Regions from separate parts of the Homo sapiens genome. Here all the other regions are linked to region 2. Evidence: promoter capture Hi-C in 16 types of primary human blood cells and fetal thymus (Javierre and others, 2016). All regions are on one chromosome and are shown on one strand. The core of a region is centred on a gene start or on the middle of the fragment in contact, and the rest is flanking DNA. Distances in the headings are between cores, read along the strand shown. Region 1 holds the start of STX4 (syntaxin 4). Region 2 has its middle 14 kb from the start of KRABD5. Region 3 holds the start of ZNF668 (zinc finger protein 668).

What was found. The method cuts DNA at HindIII sites, captures the fragments that hold promoters and counts their contacts. A CHiCAGO score of 5 or more calls a contact.
Region 1: the fragment with the promoter of STX4 here is called in contact with a fragment that was not itself captured in region 2 in 2 of 17 cell types (fetal thymus and naive CD4 T cells); the score reaches 6.8 in fetal thymus.
Region 3: a contact is called between the fragment with the promoter of ZNF668 here and a fragment that was not itself captured in region 2, in 3 of 17 cell types (fetal thymus, naive CD4 T cells and erythroblasts). The highest score is 6.7, in fetal thymus.

Annotation. Positions count from the first base shown.
Region 1 is chr16:31,031,447-31,035,109 of GRCh38, reverse strand. It overlaps STX4 (syntaxin 4), which reads right to left and starts at 1,552. Exons shown (of 11, transcript NM_004604.5): 1 at 1,275-1,552; 2 at 996-1,097; 3 at 785-884; 4 at 574-648; 5 at 70-140. The coding sequence starts at 1,304. RefSeq lists enhancers at 694-1,204, 1,717-2,228. The HindIII fragment of the contact is 4,602 bases long and covers 1-2,981 here.
Region 2 is chr16:31,697,411-31,700,826 of GRCh38, reverse strand. It overlaps the pseudogene CLUHP3. Among named protein-coding and RNA genes, the nearest start is that of KRABD5, 14 kb to the left of the region's middle. RefSeq lists silencers at 1-10, 271-410. The HindIII fragment of the contact is 5,761 bases long and covers 1-3,416 here.
Region 3 is chr16:31,072,493-31,075,797 of GRCh38, reverse strand. ZNF668 (zinc finger protein 668) reads left to right here and starts at 1,558. Exons shown (of 3, transcript NM_024706.5): 1 at 1,558-2,139. ZNF646 (zinc finger protein 646) reads right to left here and starts at 1,376. Exons shown (of 3, transcript NM_014699.4): 1 at 1,167-1,376. RefSeq lists enhancers at 610-1,142, 1,498-1,637, 1,143-1,676, 2,296-2,590, 1,882-2,682 and a silencer at 1,948-2,407. The HindIII fragment of the contact is 2,318 bases long and covers 1,410-3,305 here.

The DNA.
Region 1 (3,663 bases), core at 303-2,802, 670 kb after region 2:
TACACCTGTCATCTAATACTTCATGAAACATTTGCTGAAATGTCCTCATTTCTGAGAAAAAAAACCCACCTGGGTTTTTCTCATTCTTGTGTTGACGGAGTTATAGTTCTCATCAGCTTCCTCCTTCTGGGGCTCTATGGCTGTGGGAAGACACAGGGGTATTGGGGGTACTTGTCTCCATAGGATTTTTAGGGAAATATAATTTATCATAAAATGACTAAGGCTGAGCCTCTAAGAGGAGAAAGTAAGTTTATTTTTCTTTGCATTACATCACTGAGTTCCCATAGGTATGCAGAGGCCACCTAACAAAACTCCATCTCCCTGCCCAAAGAATGCCCAGTGGGCAGCGATAACTGTGTAAGTAAATGGTTTCATTGTAAATAAAAGAACCTGAGAGGCGGACTTGTGCTGTGGAGAGTACAATGGCCTGGAGGCCAGGAGACAGATGCTAGACCCAGGCCTGCTGTGTGACCTGGATATATCACTGGCTTCTCTGGGCCACACACTCCCCAGATATACCAACAACAGGGCAGGATCAGAGGGAAGGATCTGTCTGAGGTCCCAGGAGCTCACCCTTCAGCTGCAGGCGGATCTCCCTCCCCAGCTGTTTGATCTCATCGCGCAGGTTCTGCAGCTCCTGCTTCATGCCTGAATAAGAGAAGGCCAAGACTCCCAAACAGCAGCCCCCACCTCAACAAACCACTCTGGCCACCACCTGCGTGGAACTACAACCCCCACAATCCCTGGGGCGGAGCATGCGCCCTGCAGCCGGGGTTTCACTCACTCTCCTCGGGAAGGGGCGTGGCCAGGATGGTGACCTGCTGTTTCTCCAACTCCTGGACTTTATTCCCCAGTTTGACAATAGTCTGCCGAATTGTCCGGACCTGGGGAGGGTGACCGAGAGGGCTGAAAGAGATATGGGGTACTCCAGACCACGCTACTCCTCGGGTCCTCCTACACCCTCGCGAATCCAGGCGGAGACCCCAGCCCCTTACCTTGTGGAAGAACTCCTCGTCCGGGCTCCCCAGCCGTGCCGTGCCCGGGTGCACCACCAGCGCGACCCGCTCCTTGTCCTCTTCGTCCGAGCTGTCATCCCCCTGCCAGGCCCGGAGTCATTGGCACCACCGTTTCGCTGCGGCTCTTACCCCGCAGGACCCACAGGCTTCCGGGACTTTCCTTCCTGGCCATCAGCCACCCCTCCCTATCCCGAAGACCAGAAGTCCTGCGTTCCAGTTCGTCCGCCCGTCCCCATCCCCGCTGCCCTGGCGTCTCACCTGTCTCAGCTCGTGGGTCCTGTCCCGCATGGCGGCCTGAGCTCTCCCTCCCCGGCGCCAGAGCCGGGAGGCCCTCAAATTTGGAATTCCCGTACCCCGCTCACACTCTGACACTCCCCTCCCTCCCCCTGCGGACCCCAACACCCCCACGAGCCGCCAGAGGCTCCGTCCCTTGCACCGCCCACAGTCAATGGGAAGGCGCCGACCCCGGGGACCCCCCAAGGTTCCACAGGTTGGAATTCCCTTTTCTTCCCCGCTCCAGCTCCCGCAGCCTCAGCCCCGCCCCTCCGTGATAAATTCGGGGCATGCGCACATGGTCGCGTCTCTTCCTTGCCCGAGGCTGGGAAGGTGGAGTCGGAAGTTGTTGCGCCCCGAGCGGAAGCGGAGATGCCTGGACGCGAGAACTTGCTACCGTCACCGGAACCGTTGCATCTTCCAACGGAAATCTGGTTGCCAAAAGGGGTAGGAATACGTCATTTGTACGTAATCCGAGACACCCGCATCTCACATCACCCCATGGTGCCCCCACCGCGTCACGTGACCAGCCCGGTCCCAAACTCGTGGACCGCAGAATGTGACCCTGTGACTGTCACGTGTCCCGGCTCTGTCACCGCCGTCTCTGGGACGCCGTTCTCATCACGACGTCCCCGGCACCCCAACGACCGAGCGACGCCCACACGGCCCCCGCGAGGTGGGGAGGGGCGCGCCGACCACCCCCAGAGGCCTTTCGAGGCAGTGGGTGGTAGGACCCTTGCTGACCTCGCCTTTATTGCTTTCGGGTCCAGGGCGTGGGCGGACTGACGACTTAGCATTTGGGGCTGTCAGCATCATGGGACCTTGAAAATCGGGAAATAATAGGATCCGAGTCGTCAGCGTCAGAAAATTGCAGGGTTGTGTGGGCAGGGAATCTGGGGGTGGGAAGTGACCTCAGCCAAGGCAGAAATCTCTTCTTCCGCATCCTTCTGGCGCAGCCTCTGACAGGTGGGCGGCCAGCCGGCGCCCTCCTTGAACACTGCAGCCCGGCTGCACTCACCACCTTGTGAGCCGTCAGACCATGTCAGGGCAGCTCAGGCTAAGAAAAGTGTTTGTATTGATCACGCTGCCTCCCTGCCACTCACACCCCCCAGCCCCTGCCTTGCATCTGAGGCCAGGTAATGACTTTGTTCTTAACTGAATCTGGGGAGTTCCTAGCCCAGTACCAAGAACATTACGGGCCCTCTATAAATACTTGTGGACAGAATTTCAGGCTTTCATGTATCTGAGGATAAAGCCCCTGGTTCCTTGGTCTTCTTTAGGCTTCAGGCTTTCTGACTGTGACACTTCTCTAATCCTGGCTATCTAGATATTCACTCATTTTTTATTTTTAAAAATTTTTACGAGATGCGGTCTCACTATGTTGTCCAAGCTGGTCTCTAACTCCTGGGCTTAAGCAATCCTTCTGCCTCAGCTTCCCAAAGTGCTGGGATTACAGGCATGCACCACCATGCACAGCAACATTCAGTCATTTAATGGATATTTTTTGGGCACATAGTATGGGCCAAACACTGTTCTAGGGCTGGAGATACATCAAGGACTAATAGACAAAAATTCCTGCACTCGTGGAACTTATATTCTCTAGAAGGAGTCCCCAAGGTCACTCAGCAAGTCTCAGCATAGCCGGGAATGAATAACAGGTCTCCTGGACCCCAGGGCTCTGTCCAGGAAGCTTCTGTGAAGGTACAAGCAAGGAAAGGAATGGACCCTTTCTGCTATGCCCTGGTCAGGAAACCTAGATTCCTGGGACTGAGTTGCTATGGACTTCTGGAAATCGCTTCCTGTCTCTAAGTGTGGATCTCCCTCTGCACAGTGGGTAACTGTAGGGGGATGGGGAGATCATCTTTATGGGTATCGGCTGCTCTAAACTTCAGTGATGATGAGGTTGGAAACTGTCAAGTGCTGTGTGATTCTATGTGAGGAGTTTTGGCTCTTCTCCTCTTCCTGTTAAAACCCAGCTCAGGCAGGGTGTGGTGGCTCATGCCTGTAATCCCAGCACTTTGGGAGGCTGAGGCAGGCAGATCACCTGAGGCCAGGAGTTGGAGACCAGCCTGGCCAACATGGCGAAACCCTGTCTCTACAAACATACAAAAATTAGCCAGGCATGATGGCAGGTGCCTGTAATCCCAGCTACTTGGGAGGCTGAGACAGGAGGATTGCTTGAACATGGGAGGTGGAGGTTACAGTGAGCTGAGATCACGCCATTGCACTCCAGCCTAGGTGACAGAGTAAGACTCTGTCTCAAAAACAAAACAAAACAAAAAAAAAAAACCCAGCTAGTAGGAGAGTGGTGCCCTGATGAACCCACAGAGGGAATGCAGGGTTTTTCCGGAGGCCAAGCCCTGCCCAGTGGTGT
Region 2 (3,416 bases), core at 370-2,869:
CGGGCCCCGACCCCGGAGCCGCCAGGGGCAGGCCCGGTTCCCAGCCGACCCCTGCCGCGTCTCGGGAAGCTCAGCCCCGCAGACTCACCATCTCGCGGCTTCAGGAGCGTCCCGGTATCCTCTCTAGGGACCGTCCAGTACCTGCAGGTCACAGGGCAAAGGAGGCTGCGGAATGAAGGAGAAAGAGCAGGGTACACAGATCAAGCAGGGAAGCGCACCTGGGAGAGGAAAAGGCCAGCCCAGAACACAGGAAGTGCGCCCCCTTTTTCGGCTGCGCGCCTGATTGGACAGGCTCGACAACGGCGCCGCTGAATGGATAGGGCTCCAGGTCCCGCCCCCTTACCCCCGAGTGACAGGAGATGCGATCACAGGTGTGGCTGAATGAGGCCTGAATGAATGATTGTCTGCAGCCCTTTTCAGGCAGGGCTGACTCCCTGTGCTGGGACCTGGGGCTGCTCCGGACATTGGTATTTAACTTTGCTCATAAGATTATATCAATTTATGAGTAATATAGGTAATATGTAAAATTGAAAATTATATAATAACGATTCTTTTAAAATTTCAGATTTCATAACCTTCATGGCCTCTGGTCCCTTGTGGAGGCAGCATGAGATTTGAAAATGGAGGGAGTCCTCTAAGTCAGAAATGTCCAATAGGAATAAAATTGAGCCGCATGTGTCATTTACAGTAGCCTAGTGGCATCATGAAAGGAAAACAGGTAAAATTGATGGTAATACCTTAACCCGATATATCCAAAATATTATCACTCAAATATGTGAGCAATATGAAATTATTAATGAAGACCACCAGAGAATGCTTCTTAAGTTTGGGGTACTAAATCTTGTAAAGTCACTCTGTATTTAAACTTCTAGCACATCTCAGTTCCAACCAGCTCTATCCAAAGAGCTCAGCAGCCCCACGTGGGCAGTGGCTTCCGCATTGAAGAGCAGATCTGAGGGCACTTGCGCGTCTAACCTCAGGGAAATCGAGGGCCTGGACCCCCTTTCCTGCCAGACGAGAGCGAACACCCTCATCCTGCCCATCTCTTTCCTCATGCCCAAGGGTGGGAGAGGCAGTGCCCAGTGAGAGAGCCAGGGCTGCAGTCAGGAGGTGTCCACAGGTCGACCACTGCTGCCCACCTGCTTCTGGGCAGGGCTCCCTCAGCCTTCCAAAGGTCAGACAGTGAATGAAGAGTGTCAGGCTTCAGGAGGAAACCCCTGACTTCAGATCTGTCTACAGCCTTGACCTCCAAAGTTTGGATGTGGAGGGAATAAAAGCAAATTTTTTTTATTTTGCAATTTGCCCTTGGCCCTGATGGTTAGGCTATGGCGGGCTGTTTCCTCCTATGGTGTGGGGACTGTGTGAGTTTAAGCACCAAGCATGTCAACATGCATTTCTGTATAATTTATCCCTATCCAACAAGAGGCCCCACTTTAAATAAAGGGAAAAGCAAATCAATACCTTATACAGTGCCTTCTGTTTGCCAGGTAACAACAAGTAGTGACCAACCTGTCATTTGAATCCTGGCAACCTGACTGCAGGTGTATGTATCAGTTAGCTATTGCTGCATTAAAAACCACCCTAAACCTTATTAGCTCATGATTGGGATGGTCAGTCATTTAGGCTGGACTCAACTGGGCCATTCTTCTGGTCTCAGCTGGGCTCCTTCAGGCGTGTGTGGTCAGCTGCTGGTTGACTAAGTGGCTCTGCTTCTGGGTGTCAGCTGGGGCACCTTGGTTTTCCTCCCCAGTGGGATCTCATCCTCCAGCAGGCTAACATGTGCTTGTTCTCATGGAGATGGCAGGGTTCTAAAAGAAAAAGCAGAAGCATTCAAGGCCTTATGTCCCTAGACCCCAAACTGTCACATTGCCATATTGATAGCTTTCTATTGCCCAGAGCAAATAAGGCCAGCCCAGATCCAAGCGTCAGGAAACAGATTCTGCCTCTATGTTGGAGCAGCTGTAAAAGCATATTCCAAAGGGCATGGACACCAGAGCCATTTTGCAGTCAGTATCATTCTGCCTTTTCTTACAGCAAGGTTTATATAACTGTTCCAAGTCAAGGAACATGTCCAAAGCACTACAGCTACTAAGTGGCTGGACTGGGACTCTGGATCAACTTTGCCTGACTCCAAAGCCCATGTACCTCCATAGACCTCACAACTCAAGCAGCTTCCCTAGGCCTTTGAGATCCTGAAGACTGACTCTTCTGCAATAGAATAAAGGTTCTTTTGAGATGCTCATCCTTCTAGTAGGATTATTCACAATTAGGAGTAATCCCCACCAGAGAATGCTTCTGAAATGTCTTGCAAACATTTAGATTAACTTGGGAAAATGGCTGATGGCTGAGTTTAAAAAATCAAGGCATAACTTTTTCATTTCTTACCATAGGAGAGATCTGAAAACACATATAATGCACGAACATGTGTGCAAATTATTTTCATCCCCGTGCGTTATTTGTAGTCTGATTATGATTTTTAACACAGACTAAATTAAACTACTGTTCCCGAAACAACGTTTTACTCTGAAAGCAAGAGACACAAAGGTAGATCTGCCGAGAAGACATTTCCTCCTGCCTCAATTTAGCCAAACAGCTGAGTACGTCTTAAAGTCAGCCTTCGATTTCTAACAAGTCAAGCTGTTTGCCAAGACCTCAATCAGATCATAAGAGTGCTTCAGCTACTTCATCATCCTAGAAGGTTGACCAGACAGATCGAAGCTCTGGGGGTGGAGTGGTGAGAGCACCCGCACTAGCAGGTGGGCAGCCATAGGTCCATAGATGAGAGTCATTCATTAGGTGGGGTGTTTTGGGGTCCTGACATTTATGACACAATTAATGTCTATATTACTAAATGTAAATTTTAAAACATTACAAATAATAAATCTACATATAAACTGAATATGTCAGCAATTACAATTATTGTTATTCATCATTATTCTAAGTGTGATCATTATTATTACCACAATTAGAAATAGTGGTTGTGATTGTTGTTGCTGCTGCTGCTGCTGTTGCTGCAGGGATGGTGATAAAAACACCGGGTAAGGCTCTGCTGCCTCCTCCACTTGTGGCATCGGGAGCTGCTGGCTCACTAGTTTGGTGCACACTCTGGACCTCTTTGGTGAAGCTGCAGCTGAAGAGCCTTCAGGCTCTGCTATGGCAGAGAAAGAGCCTGAGTCAAGGCCGAGAGCAGAATCCTGTGAATTTGAAAGTGGCAGGTAGGATGGTCCCGGGGTGCAGTTGATGGTGAAGAGGCACACACCACTTAGTGAATGAGTGGAAGCCTTTGGTGAAAGGCAGAGTTTGTCCATGACACAGATCAGATTCCACTTTGACTGGGGCCAATCAGTGAAACAGACACATCTGCAGAACTGGAAACAGAGGACAAAGATTCAGTTGATGTGTTCCAGAAGCAGACT
Region 3 (3,305 bases), core at 309-2,808, 620 kb after region 2:
CAGCTAAACAGAGTAGCTGAGAAGCACTGAAAAAGCAGCTGTTTCCTCCAGTTAATAGCTGAGGACCTGAGAGGAGAGGTTAGAGGCCTCCTTCAGGGAAAGGGCTGGCTTGTTCCCCCACCACCCCGAGTCATTTCAGTGTCACAAGGTCTCTTTTCCTTGTGACAAGAGAGTTAAGAGAGTTAAGACTCTCTTAACTGGGCCAGGTGTGGTGGCTCACGCCTGTAATCCCAGCACTTTGGGAGGCCGAGGCTGGTGGATCACCTGAGTTCAGGAGTTCAAGACCAGCCTGGACAACATGGTGAAACCCTGTCTCTACTAAAAATACAAAAATTAGCCGGGCGTGGTGGTGGGCACCTGTAATTCTAGCTACTCAGGAGGCTGAGGCTGAAGAACTGCTTGAACCTGGGAGGTGGAGGTTGCAGTGAGCTGAGATCCCACCACAGCACTCCAGCCTGGGTGACAGAGCGAGACTCCATCTCAAAAAAACAAAAAACCCCAAAAGACTCTCTTAGCGACTTCTTTTATCTACTTCCCTTGAACTCAAACTATCTTCCATCTTGGGAATAACATCAATACCAGGTTGTAATGTCACTTCATTGCCTACCTTTTCTCTCCCATGCCTCCTGATCTTACCCTCACCAGTCTTTCTCATTTTTTTCTTCTGCCTCCTCTCTTAATACTGATGATGACAGCAACTCATGAAGAGTATTATATTACCATGTGCCAGGCACTGTGCTAACTATATTCATTGTGTTACTCAATCCTCAGAACACACGGCAATGCCTGTTATTCTAGTTCACGTAACAGCAAACCCCCTGACTGAGGCGGTCTTCATCCCAAAGCCCTTGCTCTCTCATGCCCCCTACATCGTCTTGTCCTTCTCCAACTCTGACTCTTCTTCCCATGGGACCCCAGTACAACTGTCTCCGACCGTAAACCCCTTCACTGAACCTGCCCCCGGAATTCTCACCTCACAAAGCCCCTTTGATCAAAAGTCCCCTCCCCTAGTCAACCACCAATGAAGTCCTCTGACCTCACTCATCTCGTCTGCCAATTTCCTCTCAGGACGCCTACCTCGCACCGGCGGCCCCCTCTCCTTCCCGCCGCGGGCGCGTCAGTTGGGGACCGCGAACAAGAGCGCGCCTGCGCACTGGGACCCTTACCCTAACTGCAGCCGCGCGCCCCAAGGGGTGGCTGTCGGGGGGCTCTCGCGCTCCCACACACGCACACTCAGCCAGGGTTCCCGGGAGGTGGGAGGGAAGGGAAAGAGGGAAAGGAGAAGGGGGGAAGAGGAAGGAGGTAGAGAAAAGAGGGCGCAGCTGGCATGAGCCAGGAGTCTACTCCCAGCTCTACGGACACTTCCTATTGTTACTAGGAAACAGGAAGTGTCCTTAGGTGCAAAAGCTTCCCCGCGAAACTTCCGCTTCGGGAGCACTGCCTGTCCCGCCTCCGAGCCGCAGTTTTACGCAGACACACTTCCGGCGCTAAGTTCTAGGTCTGCACGGCTGACTCCGCCCACGTAGGTCACAACGCGGCGTCTTTGCACGCTAAGCTAGCCACACTTCCGGCAAGAGCAGCTAGAATCGTTCCGGTGCATATTGAATAGGCGCAGAAAGGGAGAAAAAGATTCTACAGCCCTGGCCACAGTACTTTGGTGACACTTTTCGTGGGGCTCTCTGGAGGACTTTTCCCAAGGCAGATGGAGAAAACTTCGTGAAACCCACTCCTTGCTATTAAAGGAAATGTTGTGGAATATAATTGGACTTAGGTTTTGCAGAGCTTGAGCATGGCCTTTTTGTCCTCCCACCTTCTGGTTCTTGAAGACATTGCCGGTGACCTGGCCCCAGACTAACACAAGGCGGGCGTATACCGTCAGCCTGCCTGGCGTCCCCTTGCCTCAGCACACACAGAGACCTCTTGCAAGATGCTTCTCTGCCGCCATAGGCTGGAGGTTCCCCGGGAACTTTCCCTTCCTTCCTAGCTGAGGAAGATCCCTCACTTCCGCTCGCCGCGCCACCGGTCCCACCTCCCCGCCCCCCGCTGGGTCCTAGCGCCGGCCCCTGTTTGGCAGGGTCCGGGCTCCGTCGGTGCGAGGAGCCGACGCCGACGCCACGGAGTCAGCACAAGTCTCATCAGGTAGGAAACGTCGGCGGGAAGCCGCGAGGGCCCCGGGCAGCTCCCACGCGGCCACGATCCGAGCTGGCCTCAGTTTCCCTGCGGGCGCCGAGGGCGGGCCGGGTTGGCCCAGCGCGAGCAGCGCGGGCGGGGCGGGCTGTGAGCGGCCCCGGGCGCATTGCGGGCCCAGCAGGTCCTAGAACCCGCCGGCTGTCTCCGCGGTTCTGGGCTGCGGACACCCAGGCTCGGCCCGCGCGGCTGCTGGCCCGGCGCGGTGTGGTCCCGGGGGTCCTAGAGCCCGCCATGTTTTGGGTTTTTGTCCCGGTCGCGTGGCCCGCGCTGCAAGATCCCAGGCGCCGGCGGCCCCCTCCCCTGCTGAGGCCCGGCCACCACTCCCGCGGTCCTAGAGAACGCCATCTTGCAAGCCTTTGTCCCTCATTCGGCCTTCCGTCCATTCATTTGTTCATCTCCTCATCCTTCGTTCAGTCCTCCTTGCCACGTCCTCCGAAGCCACGTTTTCTGAGGCTTATAACCGGGGTCCTGCCCTCCAGGGGCTGCCTGGCTGGCGGGGGCGCCGCGTACAGACGGTTGCGAGGAGCGAGGAGCTCCGGGTTTCTGCAACTCTCGGCTCCTCGGCGCGCTTCGTAGGCCCCACCGCCCTTCAAACTCCCACAAACTTAAGGGACCCCATTTTACTGATGAGGAAACTGAGGTCCAGAGCGGCGTGGGGCCCTTACCTCTCTACTGCCATAAAGTATTCCTGAGGGCACTAGGGAAGGGGGTTCTTGAAGGATGTAAAGGGGCTTTCCCGTTGGAGAAGGCAGGCAAGGGCTCCCCGAGCCCAGGAAACTGCATCTAGAGGTGGAGGATTGAGAATTGTGGCTGGAGGTTCGGTCGCTGCCGGGAGGAGGACTCTGTCGCTGGAGCTGAGGCTGGAAAAGTAGGTTGGGATCAGGTTGTGAACTGGCCCGGTAGGAGGCCTAGGATATGATTAGCGCTCACTTCTGCAGGGTTCATCCGCTCACTACGTCACTCCTGGCCGTGAGGCCTGTGTGGTGACTGCTTGTTTAGAGATGGGAAGATTGAGGTGCCTCCTTTTTCTCCTCATCCCTGCCCCAGGGTCCTAGCCTAGGATTTTTGGAAATTGAATCTTTGCTTGCCTAGTGAGACAGCAGAACTTCATCCCC